Linked DNA regions of Homo sapiens: regions 1 and 2 are each linked to region 3. Evidence: promoter capture Hi-C in 16 types of primary human blood cells and fetal thymus (Javierre and others, 2016). All regions are on one chromosome and are shown on one strand. The core of a region is centred on a gene start or on the middle of the fragment in contact, and the rest is flanking DNA. Distances in the headings are between cores, read along the strand shown. Region 1 holds the start of EPHX3 (epoxide hydrolase 3). Region 2 holds the start of SYDE1 (synapse defective Rho GTPase activating protein 1). Region 3 holds the start of LINC00661 (long intergenic non-protein coding RNA 661).

Region 1 (3,100 bases), core at 599-3,098, 780 kb after region 3:
TGCCTTTTTCCCTACATCTTTGCGGATGGCTATTTTACAAGATGTATGTCTTCAGGCAAATGACTTCATCCTCGAATTTCAGGTTCATGATCTATACTACAGGAATGTGATTATGCTACTTAGACTTAATAGGGTTGCTCTATGGTTAAGTGATGGCTGTCCCTAAAATGTTCAAGGATATCGGGAGAAGGTTGCAAAATAGGAGGAAGAAGCTGGCTGCTTTTTTTTTTTTTTTTGAGACGGAGTCTCGCTCTGTCGCCCTGGCTGGAGTGCAGTGGCGCAATCTCAGCTCACTGCAACCTCCGCCTCCTGGGTTCACGCCGTTCTCCTGCCTCAGCCTCCCTAGTAGCTGGGACTACAGGCGCCCGCCACCACGCCTGGCTAATTTTTTGTATTTTTAGTAGAGACAGGGTTTCACCATGTTAGGATGGTCTCGATCTCCTGACCTCGTGATCCGCCCGCCTCGGCCTCCCAAAGTGCTGGGATTACAGGCGTGAGCCACCGCGCCTGGCCAGAAGCTGGCTTCTTGCAGGGACAGCAGGGCCGCAAGGCTCTGTGACTCTAGGCCCCATCACACCCGGCCCTGTCCCACTTCCTCTTTCGGCCAGAACCCCAGAACTCCAGTCATTCATAGGCCGGGTCCTCCTCGGGGGAACCAGGCCTGCCCCCTAGGAATCAGGGTATCCACGCCTCCTCGGCCCGCTCTCGGAGCCTGGGCCTCAACACCTGCAGATTGGCTCCCGGGCCAGGACCTGTCGCTTGAACATCAGTGGCCGCCGCCGTCCAATCACAGACGTACAGGGGCGGGCTGGCGGGCCTGTTGGGCCAGCAGGAGGACGGCGCCGGGCCGAGGCCGCTGGACCCGCCGTTGGAACCACAGCTGGGTGAAGTCAGTGCTGCTAGGTCTTTGGAGCCAGACCGAAGGGAGGGTCGCGCGCCCCTGGGTGGGTAGCACCAGGCGGCGGCCGTCGGCCGGGCCTCCCGAAGCCTCCTCCAGCCGCTAATACCGCCCGCGCCTCCCTCCTAGTCCTAGACCTGGCATTGCCTGTCCCTCTTCTTCGTCTTCCAGACCCTCCTGACCCGCCATATTAGGTCCCGGCCCCGCCCTCCGTCTCATTGCCCATTGCCCACCCCACCCCACCGCCCCCTCCCCGGCCTACCGTCAGCTCATTGGCCCAGGCTCCCGCCTTCTTCGCCCAATGTTAGGCCTCACCTCCTCTAGGATCCACCCTCTCCCCGCCCACCCGCATAAGCCAGGCCCACCATTCCAACTCTTTCTCCTTTTTGGCTTGTAGGCCGCACCTACTCTGCATATGCCCCGCCCCTCACTCCAGGTGTCGCCCACTTAACTGAAGATCCAGGATCCCCTCCTTAAGGTTTGTCTGGGCTCGGAATTGCCTTTTTTTTTTTTCTTTTTTGAGACGGAGTTTCCCTGTTGTGACCCAGGCTGGAGTACAGTGGCGCGATCTCAGCTCACTGCAACCTCCACGTCCCGGGTTCAAGCGATTCTCCTGCCTCAGCCTCCCAAGTAGCTGGGACTACAGGCGCCCGCCACCACGCCCAGCTAATTTTTGTATTTTTAGTAGAGACGGGGTTTCACCACGTTGCCCAGGCTGGTCTCGAGCTCTTGATCTCAGGTGATCCGCCCGCCTCGGCCTACCAAAGTGCTGGGATTACAGGCGTGAGCCACCGCACCCGGCCCGGAATTGCCGCCTTTAGACCCTCACCCACCCGCTGCTGAGTCTTCCTGGGCCCCGCCCCGGCCCTAAGCCCCGCACAGGACCTGCTAGGCCCCGCCCATTTATTTCCCCCCTTTCCAACCTCTTCCTCCCCAGCCTCCGCACCCTACCCTTGTTTCCTGTCCCTGTCGCGCCCAGGTGTTTACCTGGCACTCAGGTGAGTGGTGCGCTCTGGCTGTTTTCTGTCGGAGCCGCCCGCCTCTTCCTTCAGCGCGTCCCACAAATCCCGACGGCACGGAGGGGCCCCAGGCCAAGGGCGATGGGCCCCTGAGCCCTGACACCGCTTCGCCGCTGCTGCAGGTGCCCCTGGCCGGCAGCGCCGCCGTGGTCCCGGAGCGCGGCGACATGCCGGAGCTGGTGGTGACCGCGCTGCTGGCGCCGTCGCGCCTGTCGCTGAAGCTGCTGCGCGCCTTCATGTGGAGCCTGGTGTTCTCGGTGGCGCTGGTGGCCGCGGCGGTCTACGGCTGCATAGCGCTCACGCACGTGCTGTGCCGGCCCCGGCGCGGCTGCTGCGGGCGCCGTCGGAGCGCGTCCCCCGCCTGCCTGAGCGACCCCTCGCTGGGTGAGCACGGTTTCCTGAACCTCAAGGTGATCGCACGGGGGCGCTATCGGGGCTGCGGGGTCGCGTGGGGTCGAGACGGTTCAAGCCTCGGGAGAGAGGGTTCCCCAGGCTTCAGGCTGTGCCCTCCCCCTAGAGCTCGGGCCTGCGTCTGCACTATGTCTCGGCTGGACGAGGTAACGGACCCCTCATGCTGTTTCTGCACGGCTTCCCTGAGAACTGGTACGTCTGGGGCCAGGGGCCTGAGGCCCACGGGACTCGGGGGCAGGTGGAGCTTGGGCTCCCAAGAGGCAGGGAGGAGGGCTGTATAGATCGGGACAAGCTGAACATAGATGGGGATAGGGGTACTGAGCCAGCATACCCAGGATCCCTAGGCCCTGAAGGGACAGGACAAAGGGGTATTGAGGTTGATTGAAGTTCCCTGGATTCAGGGTGTAGCTGGCTTCAGCCTCAGCCTCTGCCTCTGCCTGGGATTCCCCATCCTCCTTTTAGGGGAAGTTTAGAGCAGGAAGGAGGGTTTGCCAATGGTTGCTGATGTGCGTAGGGTGCAGGTGCAACCTGAGGGCCCTGACTCAGCCTCCCTCCCTCGCCCGCCTGGCAGGTTCTCCTGGCGTTACCAGCTCCGGGAGTTCCAGAGCCGCTTCCATGTTGTGGCTGTGGACTTGCGAGGCTATGGCCCCTCGGATGCACCTCGGGATGTGGACTGCTACACAATCGACCTGCTGCTGGTGGACATCAAAGATGTCATCCTAGGCCTGGGTGCAGACATACCCCCATCCTAGGCGTGGCCTCCCTCATCCTG
Region 2 (3,436 bases), core at 204-2,703, 910 kb after region 3:
TCAGTCCCTGGCATCCCAAAAGGGGACTCCATCCCTGCAGCCTCAGGGTTCTAAGTCAGGCTTCCTGGGGCCCGTAGGTACTGCGTTCCAGTCTCCACTTCCTCTACCCTCTCAATAACCGTGGCATGGAGCTTTGCACCTGCGTGGCCTTGGGCAAGTCGCTTCCCTCTCTGAGGCTCAGTATCCTCCTGTGAAATGGGGGGATGTGATTTCCATGTCCAGGGAGGCTTCCAGGAGCCTTTTGGAAAAGTATACAGCCCACAGCAGGCACTACGTGCTCAGGAGTGAGGAGCTGGGTTTTCTATTCCCTGCAGCACAGTCACTCCCAGTCCCCTGCCCCTTTTACCCTCCCTCCTGTCTTCCAAACTCTGTCGCCATCCTGGGATGGGCCCTTGTCCCTCAGCCCAGGCCAGACCCCCCACGCTCAATGCTTTGGGACTTCCCCTTCCCTCCCTCCTCTCCTGTCTCATGTCCTGGGCTGTTTCCTGTGTGTGTTTGTGTTTGGGCATCTCTGTCCCTTCTCCCTTCCCTGGGAACATTGGGAATCTTTGGGAAGGCCTGGGGGGAAGGGGTACGTCCATGGAATGGTCTGGCCTTCCTCCTTTAACTCCTTCCTTCCTGGGTCCCCCTATCCCACGCAGCTGTTTCTCTAAGGTTTTTACTTGCTACCCTGCTGAACTCCTCCTCTGGCCACCTCTGATGTCCACCCTCTAGGGTCTCTGTTTGTAGCATAGTCCAAAGAGCTGTTTAAGTCGATGGCCCTGGGCACATGACCCAATTGCTCCGTGCCTCAGTTTCCCCATCTGTATAAAAGGGACAGTTTCCTGGGGCTAAGGCAGGCGCAGTTGCCGTCACTGTTAGTAGGTGGGAGGCGGAGGGGGCAGCTACTCTGATTGACGGGCCGCCCCTCTCTTTCCTTTGCAGGAGTACGCCTCCCATCTCCCATCCTGCGCCTCCAGGGCTCCCGATGCCCCTTGCCCAGCCCGACTGGGCCCCAGTGTCCCGGCCTCCCAGCCCCTCCTCCCCTCCACCCTCCAGGCCCTCAGTCGCGGCCCCATTTCCTGTCGTGGGCGAGGCCCCCTCCCGGGCCTCCCAAGGAGCCCGCAGCGCTGGCATCCCCGGCCAGCAGCACATAACGGTCCGCGCCCCCCTCCCTCCCAGCCCCTTCCTTCCAGGACCCCTACCCTCCCCTGGCTGGAGGCACCCCAGTCTGCAGCGGGGTGCGGGGGGCTCCCCCTGATCCCCCCCACCGTCTGTCCTCGGGGCCCTGGGACCCCGCTCCCAGGCCGGGTGGGGCTCGGCGCCCCCTGTTCCCCACCGATCTCCGCTTACCGCGCTCCTTGGCGTCCGACTTTTTCCGGGGAAGTTTCTCCCGGCCCCGCAGGCGGGAGAAGGTTTTCCTGAGTAGCGGCTCGGCCATGCTGCGGCCCGGGCCGGGCCGAGCCGAGTGCGCGCCCCGGGCTCCGGCCGCGCCGCCCCGCGCCCTCCCCGCCCCGCCCGGGCCTCCCCGCCCGCCCCCCGCCCCGCGCCAGCAGGAAGCACATTCCGGGAATGCTTGGCCCAAACTTTTTTTTTTTTTCCCCTTTCCCGCGGCCCGAGCGGGCGATGCTGGGAGATGTAGTTGCCTGGGGCCGGGAGGGGTTGGAATGGGGGCTCCGGGTGCCCGGATCCGCTCCAGCTTCGATGGGACGTGACGATCGTGGCGCAGGCCCGATCCCTTGTCTTCCACCTCACCCACCCTCCCTGGATGGGACTCTGGGTGATGGCATCCAGGAAGTTCTCTTGGGTCTGTCTCCAAATCGCAGCCTCCACGTATCCTCTCTCTCCTTGCCAGGTACTGCTTCAACCTGGTGCAAGCCGTAGTGTCATTCGTTTCAATGACCGTCCCCACTACCCACCCCACCCCAAGCTTCTTCCTTGGTCTCCCCATGCCACTCTTTCCCCACTCAATTCTCTCACCTCCAAATTCCAATTACTACTGCTGTTTGACAAACCATCCCCAAACGTAATGATGTAAAACAACCATGTCGTGATTGTGAAAGGAAAATAAATCTTGAGACCTCCAAATCACTGAGCCAAAAGGAAGAAGTCAAACTGGTAACTGTGTAGGACAAACCTGCCTCCCATTCTATTCCTAAGTAAGATAGCTACAAGGTTAAAAAAGCTAGCTGGGCGCGGTGGCTCACTCCTGTAATCCTAGCACTTTGGGAGGCTGAGGCGACGGATCACTTGAGGTCAGGAGTTCGAAACCAGGCTGGCCAACATGGTGAAACTCCATCTCTACTAAAAATATGAAAAAGAAAAAAAATTGGCCAGGCATGGTGGGTGGGCACTGGTAATCCCAGCTATTTGGGAGGCTGAGGCAGGAAAATTGCTTGAACACGGGAGGTGGAGGTTGCAGTGAATCAAAATTGCACCACTGCACTCTAGCCTGGTCATCAGAGCAAGATGCCGTCTAAAAAAAAAGAAGAAAAGAAAAGAAAAAAAAAGCTACATACCTCCCCCACAATTTGCCTACAAGGAAATTCCTTATGGATGAAGGACAGGCAGAACTCAAAATTGTCCCTCTGCTCACATGAGACAAACACATATCTGATCGCTTCCTTACCTATTTGTTTCACTAAGCCAGACTAAGGCATAAGTGACTATCTCTGTAAATTGCATATTCAGAAAGGCTAGTCAGAAACTCGAAAGAATGCAATTGTTTCTCTCTTATCCACCTATAACCTGGAAGCCTTCTCCCTACTTTTGAGTTGTCCTGCCTTCCCAGACCAAACCCATGTGCATCTTACATATATTGATTGCTGTCTCATGTCTCCCTAAAATATATAAAACTAGACCAAGGTGGAGTGCAGTGGTACCACCACAGCTCACTGCAGTCTCAGCCTCTTGGGCTCAAGTGATGCTCCTGCCTCAGCCTCCCGAGCAAGTGGGACTATAGGCATGTGTCACCATACCTGGCTAATTTCCCTACTTTTTGTAGAGATAGAGTCTCATCATGTTGCCCAGACTGGTCTCAAACTCCTGGGCTCGGCTGGGTGCGGTGGCTCACGCCTCTAATCCCAGCACTGTGGGAGGCCAAGGCGGGCGGATCACCTGAGGTTGGGAGTTCGAGACCAGCCTGACCAACATGGGGAAACCCCTTCTCTACTAAAAACACAAAATTAGCTGGGGGTGGTGGTGCATGCCTATAATCCCAGCTACTCGGGAGGCTGAGGCAGGAGAATCTCTTGAACCCGGGAGGCGGAGGTTGCAGGGAGCCAATATTGTGTCACTGCATTCCAGCCTGGGCAACAAGAGTGAAACTCCGTCTCAAAAAAACAAAACAAAAAAACAAAACAAAACAAAAAACCCTCCTGGTCTCAAGTGATCTGCCCGCCTTGGCCTACCAAGTAGCTAGGATTACAGACCTGAATCAAGGTAGTGGCCCTGACTA
Region 3 (2,935 bases), core at 40-2,539:
AACATGTATGCGTGCAATTTGTCTGTGTATGTGAGGATGCATGTGTGTGGGTGAACACGTCTCTCCTCCAGCTGGGCCTGGCTGCTCCACTCAGGTGTGCACCTGGATCCCTGTCACTGTCACCCCCGGGCCTGTGGCCAGCATCAGAGCACCCATAGGTGCTCCTCAGCCTCTGCTCTTTCCATGCTGGGTGGTCCTGGGGATGCAGATGGGGCAGGGACATAGGGCAAAGGGCAGAGGGCAGAGGGCAGAGGGCAGAAGCCAGGCTTCCCCCTTGGGGTGACTCGCGTAGTGTGTAAAGTGCCAGGTCTGTGTGGCAGGGCTGGATTCAATGCAATGCACCCTCTCACCTCCTCCTCCCAGAAGCCCACTGGGGTGCTGTGACTCACCCCCCACCCCATGGATGGAGGCAATCACGGAGGCTTCGAGGACTAACCCGTGGCCTGAGATCACCCAGGATCCCACTGGCCAGGCTTCCAATGGTTAAGCTCCCACTGAACAGGTCCTAGCTGACCACCCCCACAATGACCAGGTCCCACTGACCAGATGTGGACTGACCAGGTCCTGCTGACTGGGCCCCACAGACCAGGCCCTGGCTCATCAGACACCACTGACAAAGGCCACAATAACAAGGCTGCAACTGACAAGGCCCTCACGGCCCTCACTGACTAGGTCCCAACTGATGGACCCCACCAAATAGATCTCACTAATCAGACCCCCGCTGACCAGGCCCTAACAACTGCTGGACCCCTGCTGGCCAGGCCCCAAATGCTGAACCCCACTCACCAGGCCCCAAAAGCTGAACCCCACTGACTGGGCCCCAAATGCTGGATCCCTGCTGACAGGCCCCAACTATGGGATCCCCACCAACCAGGCGCCAACTGTCAGACCCCTGCCAACCAGGCCCCGGACGCTGGACTCCACTGACCATGTCCCAGCTACTGGACCCCCACTGACCAGGCCCCAACAACTGCTGGACTGCACTGATCAAGCCCAAACTGCCAGACCCCACTGACTGGGCCCCAACTCCTAGACCCCTCCTGACTGAGCCCCAACTGCCAGACCCTTGCCAACCAGGCCTCTTCTTATGAGACCCCTGCTGACCAGACCCCAACTGCTGGGCCCCTGCTTACCAGGCCCCCACATCCACACCTCACTGACTAGGCCTCACTGCTCTGATCCCCGCCGATCAGGCCCCAAATGCCGGGCCCAGATGACCAGGCCTCAACTGCTAGACGGCCCACCAACCAGGCCTCAGCTCCTGGACCCCTGTTGACCAGGCCCCAACTGCCAGACCCCAATGACCAGGCCCCAACTGCCAGAGCCCTGCTGACCAGGTTCCAACTGCTGGATCCCCTTTGACCAGGCCCCAACTGTTGGACCCCCGACAACCAGGTCCCAACTGCCTGATTCCGCCAACCAGGCCCCAACTGGTAGACCCCTGCTGACCAGGTCCCAACTGCGAGACCCATGCAGATGAAGGCCCAGCGTCCAGACCTCACTGCCTAGACCGCACTGATCTGATCCTCACTGACCAGGCCCCAACCGCCAGACCCCACCTACCAGGTCCCAGCTGCTGCATCCCTGCCAAATAACCCCCAGCTGCCGTATCCCCTCTGACCAGGCCCCAACTGCTGGACCCCCTCCAAACAGGCCCCAACTATAAGACCCCGCTGACCAGGCCCCAACTGCCAGACCCCCATGGACGAGGCTGCAACTGCCAGATCTCTGCTCACCAGGCCCCAACTGTGGGACCCCCGCTGGCCAGACCCCAACCATGAGACCCTCGCCAAACACGCCCCAACTACTGGACTCTTGCTGGCCAGGCCCCAACCCCCAGGGCCTAGTCAGTCAGTGAGACCTGACTAGGTCTCACTGATCAGATCCCCGCTGACCTTGCCCCAGCTGCAGACCCCTATTGACTGTGGGCGGAGGATTACCCAGGTGCCGAGGTGAGAGACTGAAGACACAAACTGTTTCAGTATAATAAAGAAAATAGTTAGAATAAGAATAGTCATAATACAAATTAGATATAGAGATGATCATGGACAATTATCAATCATTATTATAAACATTATTAATCATTAGCTTTTAATATTACTCTTTGTTGCGTTACTAACATAACCTAGGAATAACTGGCGGGTAGAGGGTCAGGTGCTGAAGGGACATTGTTAGAAGTGACCTAGAAGGCAAGAGGTGAGCCCTCTGTCAACGCGTGCATAAGGGCAGCTTGAGGGCTCCTTGGTCAAGCGGTAACGCCAGTGTCTGGGAAGGCGCCCGTTACTTAGCAGACTGCGAAAGGGAGTCTCCTTTCCTTGGAGGAGTCAGGGAACACTGCTCCACCAGCTTCTTGTGGAAGGCTGGATATTATCTAGGCCTGCCGCAGTCATCCGGAGGCCTAAACCCCTCCTTGTGGTGCTGTGCTCCAATGGTCACTTTCATGTTCCTCCCGTACTCCTGGTTCCTCTTTGAAATTTGTAGTAGATAGCGGTAGAAGGAATAGTGAAAGTCTTACAGTCTTTGATCTTTCTTGTAAGTGCATAGAAGAAAACGCTGACGTATGCTGCCTTCTCTCTCTCTGCTTCGGCTACCTAAGAGGGAAGGGCCCCCTGTGCTGTGATCACGTGACTTGCTTCACCTTGTCAATCACTTAGAAGATTCACCCTCCTGACCCTACGCCCCTTGTCTTGTATGCAATAAATATCAGTGTGCCCAGCCATTCAGGGCCACTACTGGTCTCCGCGTCTTGATGGTAGTGGTCCCTCGGGCCCAGCTGTTTTCTCTTTATCTCTTGGTCTTGTGTCTTTATTTCTTACGCTCTCTCGTCTCTGCACACGGGGAGAACACCCGCTAAGTCCCGTAGGGCTGGACCCTCCAATCAACCAGGTCCCAACTGCTGGACCCCACTGACCAGGCCCCAGGAACTGCCGGCCGC

Evidence for each region. Contacts are between HindIII fragments. The CHiCAGO score rates a contact against its expected background, and 5 or more counts as called.
Region 1: the fragment with the promoter of EPHX3 here is called in contact with the fragment with the promoter of LINC00661 in region 3 in 4 of 17 cell types (total CD4 T cells, neutrophils, non-activated CD4 T cells and 1 more); the score reaches 7.8 in total CD4 T cells.
Region 2: a contact is called between the fragment with the promoter of SYDE1 here and the fragment with the promoter of LINC00661 in region 3, in 1 of 17 cell types (total CD8 T cells). The highest score is 5.1, in total CD8 T cells.

Annotation. Positions count from the first base shown.
Region 1 is chr19:15,231,196-15,234,295 of GRCh38, reverse strand. It overlaps EPHX3 (epoxide hydrolase 3), which reads left to right and starts at 1,848. Exons shown (of 7, transcript NM_024794.3): 1 at 1,848-2,327; 2 at 2,435-2,520; 3 at 2,900-3,057. The coding sequence starts at 2,085. RefSeq lists a silencer at 1,099-1,258 and an enhancer at 1,597-2,098. The HindIII fragment of the contact is 10,766 bases long and covers 1-3,100 here.
Region 2 is chr19:15,105,418-15,108,853 of GRCh38, reverse strand. It overlaps SYDE1 (synapse defective Rho GTPase activating protein 1), which reads right to left and starts at 1,453. Exons shown (of 8, transcript NM_033025.6): 1 at 1,333-1,453. The coding sequence starts at 1,420. The HindIII fragment of the contact is 2,464 bases long and covers 1-1,911 here.
Region 3 is chr19:16,013,988-16,016,922 of GRCh38, reverse strand. LINC00661 (long intergenic non-protein coding RNA 661) reads right to left here and starts at 1,289. Exons shown (of 9, transcript NR_026828.1): 1 at 1,134-1,289. LOC105372291 (a long non-coding RNA gene) reads left to right here and starts at 1,867. Exons shown (of 2, transcript XR_936355.1): 1 at 1,867-1,952; 2 at 2,538-2,787. The HindIII fragment of the contact is 12,039 bases long and covers 1-2,935 here.